Linked DNA regions of Homo sapiens: regions 2, 3 and 4 are each linked to region 1. Evidence: promoter capture Hi-C in 16 types of primary human blood cells and fetal thymus (Javierre and others, 2016). All regions are on one chromosome and are shown on one strand. Each heading gives the region's core, a stretch centred on a gene start or on the middle of the fragment in contact. The rest is flanking DNA. Distances are from core to core; before and after follow the strand shown. Region 1 has its middle 7.7 kb from the start of MVB12A. Region 2 holds the start of INSL3 (insulin like 3). Region 3 holds the start of MAP1S (microtubule associated protein 1S). Region 4 holds the start of UNC13A (unc-13 homolog A).

Region 1 (3,139 bases), core at 350-2,849:
CCAGGTTCAAGCAATTCTCCTGCCTCAGCCTCCCGAGTAGCTGGGACTACGGGCACCCACGACCATGCCCGGCTAATTTTTTTTTTTTTTTTTTTTTGTATATTTAGTAGAGATGGGATTTCACCATGTTGGCCAGGCTGGTCTTGAACTCCTGACCTCGTGATCCGCCCACCTTGGCCTCTCAAAGTGCTGGGATTACGGGCGTGAGCCACCATGCCCGATCATGTGTGTTTTTTTCGTAGAGATGGTGTTTCACTGCTGCCCAGGCTGCCCTTAAACTCCTGAGCTCAACAGATCCTCCCAGCTTGGCCTCCCAAAGTGCTGGGATTACAGGTGTGAGCCACCGCTGCACCCAGTCCCAAATTTTTTTTTTCTTTTTTTTTGAGACAGGGTCTTGCTCTGTCACCCAGCCAGGAGTGCAGTTATGCAATCATAGCTCACTGCAGCCTTCACCTCCCAGACTCAGGCGATCCTCCCACCTCAGCCTCTCGAGTAGCAGGGACTACACAGGCAGGTATCACTATGCCCGGCTAATTTTTAATTTGTACAGACAGGGCCTTGCTGTGTTGCCCAGGCTGGTCTCAAACTCCCGGGGGCTCAAGTGATCCTCTCGCCTCAGCCTCCGATAGTGCTGGCATTACAGGCGTGAGCCACCATGGCTGGCCAACTTTAATTATTTAAAAGCTTGGATGTTTCTTTAGACAACACCGTCCTCACTGTGAGAAAATGACCCTCCCATTAGGCCAGTTTCTGTACCACTACAACTAACAAAGTCTATTGCCGCTAAGAAATAAGCCTTAGCTTTGCTATTTATTTATTCATTTACTTAGAGATAGGGTTTTGCTCTGCACCCAGGCTGTTTTTTTTTTTTTTTTTTTGCAGACAGAGTTTCGCTCTTGTTGCCAAGGCTGGAGTGCAATGGTGCGATCTTGGCTCACCACAACCTCTGCCTCCTGGGTTCAAGCGATTCTCCTGCCTCAGCCTCCTGAATAGCTGGGATTACAGGCATGCGCCACCACGCCCCGCTAATTTTGCATTTTTAGTAGAGACGGGGGTTTCTCCATGTTGGTCAGGCTGGTCTTGAACTCCCGACCTCAGGTGATCCGTCCGCCTCGGCCTCCCAAAGTGCTGGGATTACAGGCGTGAGACACCGTGCCCTGCCTTACTTATTTATTTATTTAGAGACAGGGTCTCACTCTGTCACACAGGCTGGAGTGCAGTGGCGCAATCATAGCAAACTGCAGCCTCGACCTCCTGGCCTCAAGCGATCCTCGTGCCTCAGCCCCCAAAAGTGCTGGGATTACAGATGTGAGACTCCAAGTATGACAGCCTTAGTTCTTCTTTTTCTTTTTGAGATGGAGTTTCACTCTTGTTGCCAAAGCTGGAGTGCAATGGTGCAATCTTGGCTCACTGCAACCTTGACCTCCCGGGTTCAAGCGATTCTCCTGCCTCAGCCTCCCAAGCAGCTAGGATTACAGGCGTGTGCCACCACACGCAGCTAATTTTTATATTTTTAGTAGAAACAGGGTTTCACTACGTTGGCCAGGCTGGTCTCGAACTCCTGACCTCAGGTGATCTGCCTGCCTCGGCCTCCCAAAGTGCTGGGATTACAGGTATCAGCCATCATGCCTGGCCAGCTTTTCTAAACCACAGAGATCTGGGGATGTTTCCAACTGCAGCAGAATGTGGGCCACCACAAGACTACAACAGCCCAGAGGAGAAACAGCAGCATAGCAGCCATCGTACACGTCCATGGGCATGCACTTATGGGAGAAGGAAGGTGTGAGTTTAGGGTGGTGAATTTCTTCTCTTTTTTTTTTTTTTTTTTTTGAAATGGAGTTTCACTCTTGTTGCACAGCCTGGAGTGCAGTGGCACAATCTCAGCTCACTGCAACCTCCACCCACCAGGGTTCAAGCGATTCTGCTGCCTCAGTGTCCCAAGTAGCTGGGATAACAGGCACCTGCCACCAAGCCTGGCTAATTCTGTATTTTTGGTAGAGATGGGGTTTCACTATGTTGGCCAGGCTGGTCTCGAACTCCTGACCTCAGGTGATCCACCCACCTCGGCCTCCCAAAGTGCTGGGATTACAAGCATGAGCCACTGTGCCTGGCCATGTTCTTGTGGTTTTTGTTGGTGATTTTGCCATTGAAATTCCCCCAGACACCGAAATGCTGTCCAGGCTTCCTAAGTACCAAAAGGCTGCAATGGCTGGGCTCGGCGGCTCATGCCTGTAATCCCAGCACATTGGGAGCCGAGGCAGGAGGACTGCCCAAGGCCAGGAGTTCAAGACCAGCCTGGGCAATATAGTGAGACCCCCATCAGTACAAAAAAAATTTTAAATTAGCCCAGTGTAGCCTGTAGTCCCAGCTACTCAGGAGGCTGAGATTGGAGGATCACCTGAGCCCGGGAGGTCAAGGCTGCAGTGAGCTATGATCATGCCAAAAATAAAATACTTAAAAAAAAAAAAGTCTGTGATGCACCTCATGGAGAAAATCCATTATAGAGAAGCTTTATGCAGACGTGAGTTTCGGTGCTGTTGGCTGTGAGTTCAATGTAAATGAATCCACCATAGATATTAAATAAGGTGTTTTTAAACAAATGTACATAAAACAAGGTTGTATGAATTGGTGGATGAAAATGGTGTGGCCTGGGCCGGGCGCAGTGGCTCACACCTGTAATCCTAGCACTTTGGGAGGCCAAGGCGGGGGATCACTTGAGGTCAGGACTTTGAGACCAGCCTGGCCAACAAGGTGAAACGCTGTCTCTACTAAAAATACAAAATACAAATTAGCTGGTTATGGTGGCCCAAGCCTGTAGTCCCAGCTACTCAGCAGCAAGGGGTGCCGGCTGAGGCAGGAGAATCACTTGAATCTGGGAGGCAGAGGTTGCAGTGAGTCGAGATCATGCCACTTCACCCAGCCTGGGTGACAGCATGAGGCGCTGTCTCAAAAAAAAAAAGAAAGAAAAAAAAAAAAGGCCTGGGCGCTGTGGCTTACACCTGTAATCCCAGCACTTTGGGAGGCCGAGGAGGGTGGAGCACAAGCTCAGGAGATCGAGACCATCCTGGCTAGCACGGTGAAACTCTGTCTCTACCACAAATATAAAAAATTAGCCGGGCGTGGTGGTGGGTGCCTGTAG
Region 2 (3,139 bases), core at 640-3,139, 390 kb before region 1:
TTAGTAGAGACAGAGTTTCACCATATTGGGCAGGCTGGTCTCGAACTCTTGACCTCAAGTGATCCACCTGCCCCATCTTCCCAAAGTGCTTGCATTACAGGCATGAGCCACTGCACCTGGCCTGTGTGCCTCAGTTTTCTCATTTGTACAGTAATAGAAACAACAAAATTCTGAACATTTCTGGTCTTGGAAGATGCCCGCTGTCTTCCCCCCTGCCCCCCAGAAAAGGCAGGATTATTACTTTTCAGTTGATCTATTTCATCTCTTTAAACTGGTTAAGACAATAGCGAAGACTTGGCCGTGTGTGGTGCCTCACACCTGTAATCCCAGCATTTTGGAAGGCCGAGTAGGGAGAACCACTTGAGTTCTAGATGAGCCTGGGCAACATAGCAAGACCCCTGCCTCTACAATTAAAAAATTAAAAATGGCCGGGCGCGTTGGTGCACGCCTGTAATCCCAGCACTTTGGGAGGCCGAGGCGGGTGGATCACTTGAGGTCAGGAGTTTGAGATCAGCCTGGCCAACATGGTGAAACCCCGTCTCTGCTAAAAAATACAAAAATTAGCCAGGCTTGGTGGTGGGCACCTGTAATCCCAGCTACTCAGGAGGCTGAGGCAGGAGAATCGCTTGAACCCAGGAAGCAAAGGTTGCAGTGAGTCGAGATCGCACCACTGTACTCCAGCCTGGGTGACAGAGTAAGACTCTGTCTAAAAAGATAAAAATAAAAATTAAAAAATTAAAAATTAGCTGGGCATTGTATTGCAGGCCTGTAGTCCCAGCTACTCAGGAGGCAGAGGCTGAAGGATCGCTTGAGCCCAGGGGAATGAGGTTACAGTGAGCTATGATCCTGCCATTACAGGCCAACCCAGAGAGATCCTATGTCAAAAATGAATAAATACCCTGGTGTGGTCGCTCTCGCCTGTGATCCCAGGACTTTGGGAGGCTGAGGCGGGAAGATGACTTGAGTCCAGGAGTTTGAGACCAGCCTGGGCAACATGGCAAAACCCCATCTCTACAAAAAAAATACAAAAAATTAGCCGGGTGTGGTGGCGTGGGCCTGTAGTCCCAGCTACTCAGGAGGCTGAGGTGGGAGAATTGCTTGAGTCAGGGATAGGGAGGTGGCAGTGAGCCCATATCGTGCCACTGCACTCCAGCCAGGGTAACAGAGCAAGAACTCATCTCAAAAATAAAAAATAAAAATAGGTGGCTGGGCGTGGTGGCTTACACCTGTAATCCCAGCTACTTGGGAGGCTGAGGTGGGAGAATCACTTGAACCCAGGAGGTGGAGGTTGCAGTGAGCCGAGATCGCATCACTGCACTCCAGCCTGGAAGACAGAGCAAGACTTTGTCTCAATAATAATAATAAAAATAATAATAGTCCAGGCACAGCTCATGCCTGTAATCCCAGCATTTTGGGAGGCCGAGGCAGATGGATCGCTTGAGGTCAGGAGTTGGAGACCAGCCTGGCCAACATGGCGAACCCCAGTCTCTACTAAAAATAAAAAATAAAAAAAAAAAAATTAGCCAGGCATAGTGGTGCGCACCTGTAATCCCAGCTACTCAGGAGGCTGAGGCAGGAGAATCGCTTGAACCCGGGTGTCAGAAGTTGCAGTGAGCCGAGATCAAGTCACTGCACTCCAACCTGGGTGACAGAGTGAGACTCCATCTCAAAAAAAAAGAAGAAAAAAATAAAAAAGAAAGACTCGTTGCCCAGTGCTCCCTCTGGGAGAAGTACATCCAAGGCCCTGGCCCTGGGAGAAAGGCTCTGGCACTAACCCCACCCTTGACCTTTTTCCTGGGCGGTCCTGAAGAATGTTCTGTCCCTTCTCCAAGGCCCCCAGCTGGGACGGCCCAGGCGCCTATAAAGGGGGTCCCCGCTTGGCCCCGGCGCCACCCACCACCATGGACCCCCGTCTGCCCGCCTGGGCGCTGGTGCTGCTGGGCCCTGCCCTGGTGTTCGCGTTGGGCCCCGCGCCCACCCCAGAGATGCGTGAGAAGTTGTGCGGCCACCACTTCGTACGCGCGCTAGTGCGCGTGTGCGGGGGCCCCCGCTGGTCCACCGAAGCCAGGAGGCCTGCGACCGGAGGCGACCGTGAGTGGGGACGGGCAGGGACAGCGCTCTGGGAAGCCGAGGTGGGGCAGGTGCACGTAGGCGCAGATGCACACGTGCAGGGAGGTGGGCAGGTTTGCATGCATGTGCCCAGGGCTCACCTGCCGGCTGCGTGCACAGATCGTGGGTCCGCACTGGAGTGTGTGTGAACGCGCGTGTGAAAGTCCCCAGAGCCGTTAGCCAGGCGTGGTGGCTCACGCCTGCAATCCCAGCACTTTGGGAGGCTGAGGCGGGTGGATCCCCAGAGGTCAGGAGTTCGAGACCAGCCTGGCCAAAATGGTGAAACCCCATCTCTACTAAAAATAATTTTTAAAAAAATTAGCCGGGGATAATGATGCACATCTGTAATCCCAGCTACTTGGGAGGCCAAGGCAGGAGAATCGCTTGAACCCGGAAGGCAGAGGTTGCAGTGGGCCGATATCATGCCATTGCACTCCAGCCTGGGCGACAGAGTGAAACTCCGTCTCAAAAAAAAAAAAAAAAGAAAGTCCTCAGAGCATGAGTCCCCCTGAGGGGCCAGAAACAGAGTGAGGCAGGAGAGGTAGGCTCTTGCAAGTACATGGTGAGATCCTGTCTTAAAATTTCAATATTTTGATCTTCATGAATTTTTGCCTTAATTTTGCTTTGTTTGTTTGTTTTTTGAGACAGGGTCTCACTCTGACGCCCAGGCTGGAGTGCAGTGGTGAGATCTCGGCTCACTGCAGGCTCAACCTCCTGGGCTCAAACCATCCTCCTGCCTCAGCCTCTGGAGTGGCTGGGATACAGGTGCTGCCACCACACCCAGCTAATTTTTTTTTCTTTTTCGTAGAGAGGGAGTCTCACTCTGTTTCCCAGGCTGGTCTCAAACTCCTGAGCTCAAGTAATCCTCCCACCTTGACCTTCCAAAGTGTTGGGATTAGCGATGTGAGTCACTGTGTCCAGCTTTAAAAGTATTTAAAAGTATTGCTTTTGAAAAGTATTGCTTTTCACAATTATGTTACTTTATTTTATTATTTTATTTTTATTTATTTATTTTGAGACATAGCCTCGC
Region 3 (3,139 bases), core at 467-2,966, 290 kb before region 1:
GGGGGTTATCACTGGGTCACGGCTTGCATTTGAAAGGTCTCAACTGTATTATTACTGTTGTTATTTATAGCTGCATCCCACCCCCCATGCCTGGCACACGGCTGGCACTTCCCCAAATAACAAGAGGTAGGGAGCAGTCAGGGGGACCCCAGCCTCACCTTTCACAATGCTGGAGAAGGTGGCAGAGTGTCGGGACACAAAGACCTTGAGCTGTTCATCAAGGTTGCAGACGCCAGGATCGACATCCCAAGACCGGATGCCTGGTGGGAAGGAGGGATCAAGGCGGGAGTTCAGCCGGGCCCCCCAGCTCCCAGAATATTTCAATAATTAGCACCCCGTGGGTGGGGAGCGCCCCAGCCTCCTCCCTTCACTCACAGCTTGGAGACTCAGAAGTACCCAACACCTTCAGGTCTCGCTGCAGCTGAGCCAGGGGACCCAGAGCACACCTCATCATTTTACACACAAGATTCATCAGCAACAAAGCCTCCACCTCCTCCATCTCCACCTCCTCGCTGCTCCTATGCCCTGCCAGACCCGTTTCCACTCACCGCCCTTGCAACAGCTGTTTCCCCTGCCTGGAAGTCCATCCCCCTGCCGCCCCCACCTGTTCCTACTGGCCAGGGGGCCCTTCCCCCTCAGCACCTTCGGGTGCTAAGACTGACTGTCCTCTCAGTCCCTTGCAGCCTTCTCATCCTTCCTGACACCATGTGAGCTGGAAGCTTGTTCCATCTCCTCACTCGCTTTGGGTCCATCCCCAAACCAGACCTGTGTTGGCAGGGCTGAACCTGTCTATCATCCCGGCCATATCCCTGTGTCCACTGCCCAAAGGCCTGGCGCATAGCAGGTGCTCACTAAACACTCCTCAAGCACATGAACCGAGGTGCGTGTTCCTGTCCCATTTTACATGCAATGAAACGCCAGGTCCAGATGCTCCGAGGGATGGGGGATGAACACCCATCTCCACCCACGGGCGCATCACGCCCGCCAGTCCCACTGAGCCAAGTGGCTGCAGGTGAACCTGGCAGGTGCGCCTATGACTCACCTCCCTAGGTGCCAAATCCCCAGGGCAGGCCGCACCCGCCCACACCCCAATTAGCAGCTCCTTGTGAGGCAACAGAAAGCGGGCCCCGGGGCTCCAGGCCCAGCCTCCCCCATATCTGCTTCTCCCTCCGGGAGATCTCTATCTAAGCTGCTAAGACCTGGAGATCCAAAGCGACCCCAGGCCCTACCCCCGGGCAGGCCAGTCAGGCGGGAAGCGGAGCCGTGGTCCAACTGCAAGGGTCCCCAAGCCCAGGCCCGTGTCCCCTCCCCTATCTTCACCCGGAGTTGGGGCGGGGCAGCCCTGCCCAGCCCAGGCCCGGATGCCACTTTCTCCGCGGGCACCCACGGGCACCCCGCCTTTGCCCGCGTCGTGCGCCTAACGGTGAAGGGGACCCAGCCCCAGGCCCGCGACCCCCGCCCCGGAGCCCGGGTCCCGCCGCCGCCGCCGCCGCCGCCCCACCCCGCCGGCCCCGGGCCCAGACGCGCGAACGGGCCCGCCTCCCGGGCTCCCGCGGGCCCCCAGGCCAGCCCGACCTCTTTCGAGCTCCTCCAGGACGTAGGTGAGGAGCCCCGGGCTCCCGAACTCGCTGCCCACCACGAGGAGCAGTGAGCTCGGAGCCGCGGCAGCCCCAGATCCAGCCACCGCCGCCATCTTCGGGCCGCCCCGGCGTTCTCGGCGCCCGCCCCGCAGGCCCCGCCTCTTAAAGGGGCCGCACCGGAAGGGCTGAAGACCCCGCCCGGAACCACCGCATCCCCGCCCCTTTTTGTCGACCACTTACAGGCCCTTTGAGGTCGTGGAGAGCAGGGGATGCGGGCGTTAAAGGGGTTGGCCGACTCCTGGGTGTCCGCTTGGGAGCCGCCTCTCCCAAGTGACCATTCATTCATTTTTTTTTTCATTGAACAAGCTTTGATTGCGTGCCTGCTGCATGTAGGTCAGAACTCCTGCCCTCCAGGAACTCACATCACATGACAGTAGGCCGCATCAGAACCCGGTGCCTATGGATGCTCCCAGCTCTCTAGGTCAGGGCTTGAACAGAGAAAAGAAATCTATCTTGTAGGTAGGGCTTTAAGGGATGTGTAGGAGTTTGCCTTGTGGGTGGTGGGGCAAGAGCTGGTGAGGCAGAAGTTTACAGCAGGTGCAAAGTTTTAGAGGTAAGAAAGTACATGTGTGTTTGGGACACAACCGGAGCACTCTGGGCCTGCCTGGAACAGGGCAACACTTATTCTGCACCTCCTGTGCGCCAGGTATTTTATTGCATTAGCTCATTACATACAAGCACAAAGCGATGAGTTTTGTGCTTGTATGTAGGCACAGATGAGTAGGCACAGTTACTGTGGTCACTTTCAGAGGAAAGAAGAGGAAACTGAGATTTGGAGGGATGAAGTCACCAGGCCTGTAAGTGGTAGAGCAGGTTTGAACCCAAGTGGGTCTTACTCTAGATCCAGCCTGTGCAAGGGACTGCCTGCGTTGCGCACATGGGTACCTCTCTCTCCCCAGATAATCCTCTTTAGGCTTTTCTTTCCTTTCCTCCCCTCTCTTCTCCTCTCCTCCCCTCCCCTCCTCTCCTCTTCTCCCCTCCCCTCCCCTTCTCTCCCCTCTCCTCTCCTCTCCTCCCCTCCCCTCCCTTCCTCTCCCTCCCCTCCCCTCCCCTCCTCTCCCCTCTCCTCTCCTCTCCTTTCCTTTTCTTGAGATGGAGTCTCATTCTGCCGCCCAGGCTGGAGTGCAATGGCACAATCTCAGCTCACTGCAACCTCTGCCTCCCGGGTTCAAGCGATTCCCTTGCCTCAGCCTCCCAAGTAGCGGGATTATAGGTGTCCGCCACCATGCCCTGCTAATTTTTGTATTTTAGTAGAGATGAGGTTTCTTTTCTTTTCTTTTCTTTTCTTTTCTTTTCTTTTCTTTTCTTTTCTTTTCTTTTAGAGACAGAGTCTCGCTCTGTCGCCCAGGCTGAAGGGTAGTGGCGCGATCTCGGCTCACTGCAAGCTCCACCTCCCAGGTTCATGCCATTCTCCTGCCTCAGCCTCCCGAGTAGCTGGGACTACAGGCGCCCGCCACTGTGCCCAGCTAATTTTTTGTATTTTCAGTAGAGACGGGGTT
Region 4 (3,139 bases), core at 199-2,698, 260 kb before region 1:
CCTGGGCCACAGATTGAGACTACACCTCCAAAAAAAAAAAAATTACAACTGGTTTCACATGTTAACTCATGTAATACCTCCAGCAACCTTGTGAGGCAGGACTTGTTATCATATTCATTCTACAGGTGCGGAAACTGAGGCACGAGGAGGTCACAAGACCTGCCCAAGGCCATGCTTGTGATGAGAGACAGAGTTTGGTTTTGAACAATGGCCTCACTCAACTCCATGCACATTCTGCATTTATGAAGCTCTTTCATGTGGGCTGGGGGCAGGAGACCCTGTGGGGCTCAGCCTTTCATGCTAGTTTAGGTGCCAGTGATACAGCGAGCAGGTTGCAGGGCAAGGGGCCCACATGGAGCTGCCCAGTTTGATATGTGGGGAGGGGGCCAGGCGCAGTGGCTCAGGTCTGAATCCCAGCACTTTGGGAGGCCGAGATGGGCGGATCCCCTGAGGTCAAGTGTTCAAGACCAGGCTGGCCAACATGGTGAAACCTCGTCTCTACTAAAAATAAAAAAAATAAAATAAAAAAAAAAAGCTGGGCATGGTGGCATGCGCCTGTAGTCCCAGCTACTCGGGGAGGCTGAGGCAGGAGAATCTCTTGATCCCAGGAGGCAGAGGTTGCAGTGAGCCAAGATTGCGTCACTGCATTCCAGCCTGGGCTGCAGAGGGAGACTCCATCTAAAAAAAAGAAAAGTGGGGAGGAGTGGCAGAGTTTCGTTCGGGTCAGGGCCCAATCAGAGGAAGGGATAGGGGCTGGGGGAGTCCAGAGAGGAGAAACAAAGGCTCAGCTTGGGGCAGTCAGGGAAGCCTTCCTGGAGGAGAGGATATTCAGACAAGACATTGATGGATGAAAAGGAGTTCAGAGTGTGGGCAAGGACCCATGGGCTGGATGGCTTAGAGACATAGAGAGAGACCTAGACAGGATGCAGTAGAGCTGCAAAAAGACTTTACAGAGAGAGGCTAAGAGACACATGACTGAGAGAGCAGTGGACAGAGTCAGAGGAACAGAGACCCAGGGAGAGAAAGAGACCAGGCAGTAGAGTTAGAGAGACAGAGACGTAGAGACAGAGGAAGAGAGATACTCAGAGAACAGGACCATCTGCCCGGTGCTGGTGCCGGGCGTACACACAAGAGCTTGCATTTGCCTGTACTTGCTTGAGTATTGCAGGGAGGCGTTTGCCCAGGTTACCAGGGCAGGAATGTCCATGCATGGGTGGCGGGGGCACGTGCACCATTTCAGTGCAGGTGAGGGTCTGCACAGGAGGAAACCTGCTTGGGGGCCGCCGTCGCCCCTTGTCCCCCTGCAACGAGGAGGTGTGGGGCGAGGCGCCCCTTCCCGGAGCCAGGCCCTTTAACGCCCCCCCAGCCCGCAGCGCCCCCGCCCCATCAGGCGTCCCTGGGCTCCGCCTGCCCGCCCCGCATCAGCGCCACGTCAGGCGCTGTCCGCGCCCCCGGTGCTGAACCAAGATGGCCGGTGGCGGCCGGGCCCCGGCGTGAGCCAAGCGCGGGCTGCAGCCGGGAGATGCCCCAGCCCAGCGGCCGCTGAGCCCGACCCGACAGAGCCGGCCCGGCCGCCTCCGGCCCACCTGCGAGCTCGGAGACATGTCTCTGCTTTGCGTTGGAGGTAGGAGGCGAGGCTGGGGGTCGGGGGACCCGTGTGGACGCGGGCTGGGGTCGGGGTCCGCGTGGATGCGGCTCCCAGGGGGTTCCTGGGGGGTGACCCGAGTCCAGGTGGCTGGACTTTTGAGAGGGGTAGCCCTTGTCGACGCAGCTGGGCCCCGGAGGGGGTGATCCGTGTAGACGCGGCAGGGCTCTCGGGGGTCCTGGTGGCCGCTGCTGGAGGGGTCGTGTGGACGCGGCTGAACGCGGAGGCCCGTGTGGACGTGGACGGGTATCCGGGGTTCTACCCGGAAACGATCTAGACTGGGGCGTCTGTGTAGACCAGGTTTTTAGAGGGTCAGTGAGGAAGAGTCTGGGCTCGGTAGTTTGATTGAAGCCTGCAGGGGTGCTTGGAAGGGGTCTGGTGTTGTGGGCTGGGTTACGGGTCCTCATGGACGCGGACCCGGCTGGAAATTCGAAGGAGAGTGCGGTGGGAGGGTTCTCCAAGCCGTGGGGATGTAAGATATAGGTAGAGGGGCTTGGCCATCAGGGCATCCACGAGTTCTAGGACTCTCCCAGCCCTAGGTGTAAAGAGGACTGGAGTGGGGGGAGTGTGGAGACAGGAGACCCCTCCCAGCGTCCAGAGAGGGCTGTGACTGGAGGTCTGGGGGCGCTTTTCCAGTTAACTCTTTGGCCTCCCGAGTGAGGGGGTTGGAGGAATGTCCAGAAGGTCTTCCCGCTCCCTGCCCCCTCCGGTTCTCCCAAACACGTTTCAGGGCCTTCTCGGCAGGGAGCCTACTTCTTGGAAGAGCAATGTCTCCTGGTCCCCCTCCTGGCCCATCCTCACCTCACCCACTTTGCACTGGAGAGAGGGAGGGAGGGAGACGTGAGGTGGGGGGGGAGCTATTTTGGGGCCAGAACGCCATCTGCACAGAGGCCCACGCCCAGGCCCACGCTCTGCGTTGGGGTTGGAGGAGGGAGGGAGACGTGGGAGGGGCATGACCCCCCACCCCACACCTTTATGGCTCTGGGGTCGTGGGGAAGCCAGCCCAACCGAACCCAGGCGTTCTGGGCACTCCCGTTTGAGAAATCAAACTCTGGGAGACCTTGGGCGGCAGGGGTGGATGTGGACCGCCGTTCCACGCCTACAGAGCTCTGAACCCCTGGTTCTTAAGGACTGGGGTCCCCCCGTCACTCCCACCCATTTCAAGAAGGCTGGGGTGGGGGAAGGGGTGTGTCTGCCAAGCCTGAGACTGCAGGCTTCGGGAGACCTCGGGCGACAGGAAGCGTGCGTGTGCTGAACTCCTGCTGCCTGGACACAGGGTGGGCAGGCCGGGGAGCCGGGAACCGCCCCCGCCGCCCCTCCTCCTCCCTCCCCTCCCCCTCGGCCGATTCATTCACAAACCCTGCCCCGCCCGCCCGCTCCCCGCCGCGGCAGCTTCCGAGTGCAAATCCGGCCGGGCTGGGCCGGCGTGGACGCGGGTGTTCTTAAAGGGACAGGGGCCTACTTTCTCTAAGCTCGTTTCTGCTGGACGGGGCT

What was found. The method cuts DNA at HindIII sites, captures the fragments that hold promoters and counts their contacts. A CHiCAGO score of 5 or more calls a contact.
Region 2: the fragment with the promoter of INSL3 here is called in contact with a fragment that was not itself captured in region 1 in 4 of 17 cell types (M1 macrophages, M2 macrophages, M0 macrophages and 1 more); the score reaches 6.6 in M1 macrophages.
Region 3: the fragment with the promoter of MAP1S here is called in contact with a fragment that was not itself captured in region 1 in 3 of 17 cell types (megakaryocytes, endothelial precursors and M1 macrophages); the score reaches 5.7 in megakaryocytes.
Region 4: a contact is called between the fragment with the promoter of UNC13A here and a fragment that was not itself captured in region 1, in 2 of 17 cell types (M2 macrophages and M1 macrophages). The highest score is 6.9, in M2 macrophages.

The regions. Positions count from the first base shown.
Region 1 is chr19:17,426,200-17,429,338 of GRCh38, reverse strand. No RefSeq gene overlaps it. Among named protein-coding and RNA genes, the nearest start is that of MVB12A, 7.7 kb to the right of the region's middle. The HindIII fragment of the contact is 1,825 bases long and covers 687-2,511 here.
Region 2 is chr19:17,820,269-17,823,407 of GRCh38, reverse strand. INSL3 (insulin like 3) reads left to right here and starts at 1,889. Exons shown (of 2, transcript NM_005543.4): 1 at 1,889-2,091. The coding sequence starts at 1,902. The HindIII fragment of the contact is 12,026 bases long and covers 1-3,139 here.
Region 3 is chr19:17,718,057-17,721,195 of GRCh38, reverse strand. MAP1S (microtubule associated protein 1S) reads right to left here and starts at 1,716. Exons shown (of 7, transcript NM_018174.6): 1 at 1,576-1,716; 2 at 159-260. The coding sequence starts at 1,693. RefSeq lists enhancers at 525-674, 1,065-1,134 and a silencer at 1,485-1,534. The HindIII fragment of the contact is 1,227 bases long and covers 722-1,948 here.
Region 4 is chr19:17,686,663-17,689,801 of GRCh38, reverse strand. It overlaps UNC13A (unc-13 homolog A), which reads left to right and starts at 1,448. Exons shown (of 44, transcript NM_001080421.3): 1 at 1,448-1,624. The coding sequence starts at 1,603. RefSeq lists a silencer at 1,930-2,112 and enhancers at 1,346-2,306, 2,307-3,139. The HindIII fragment of the contact is 13,980 bases long and covers 1-3,139 here.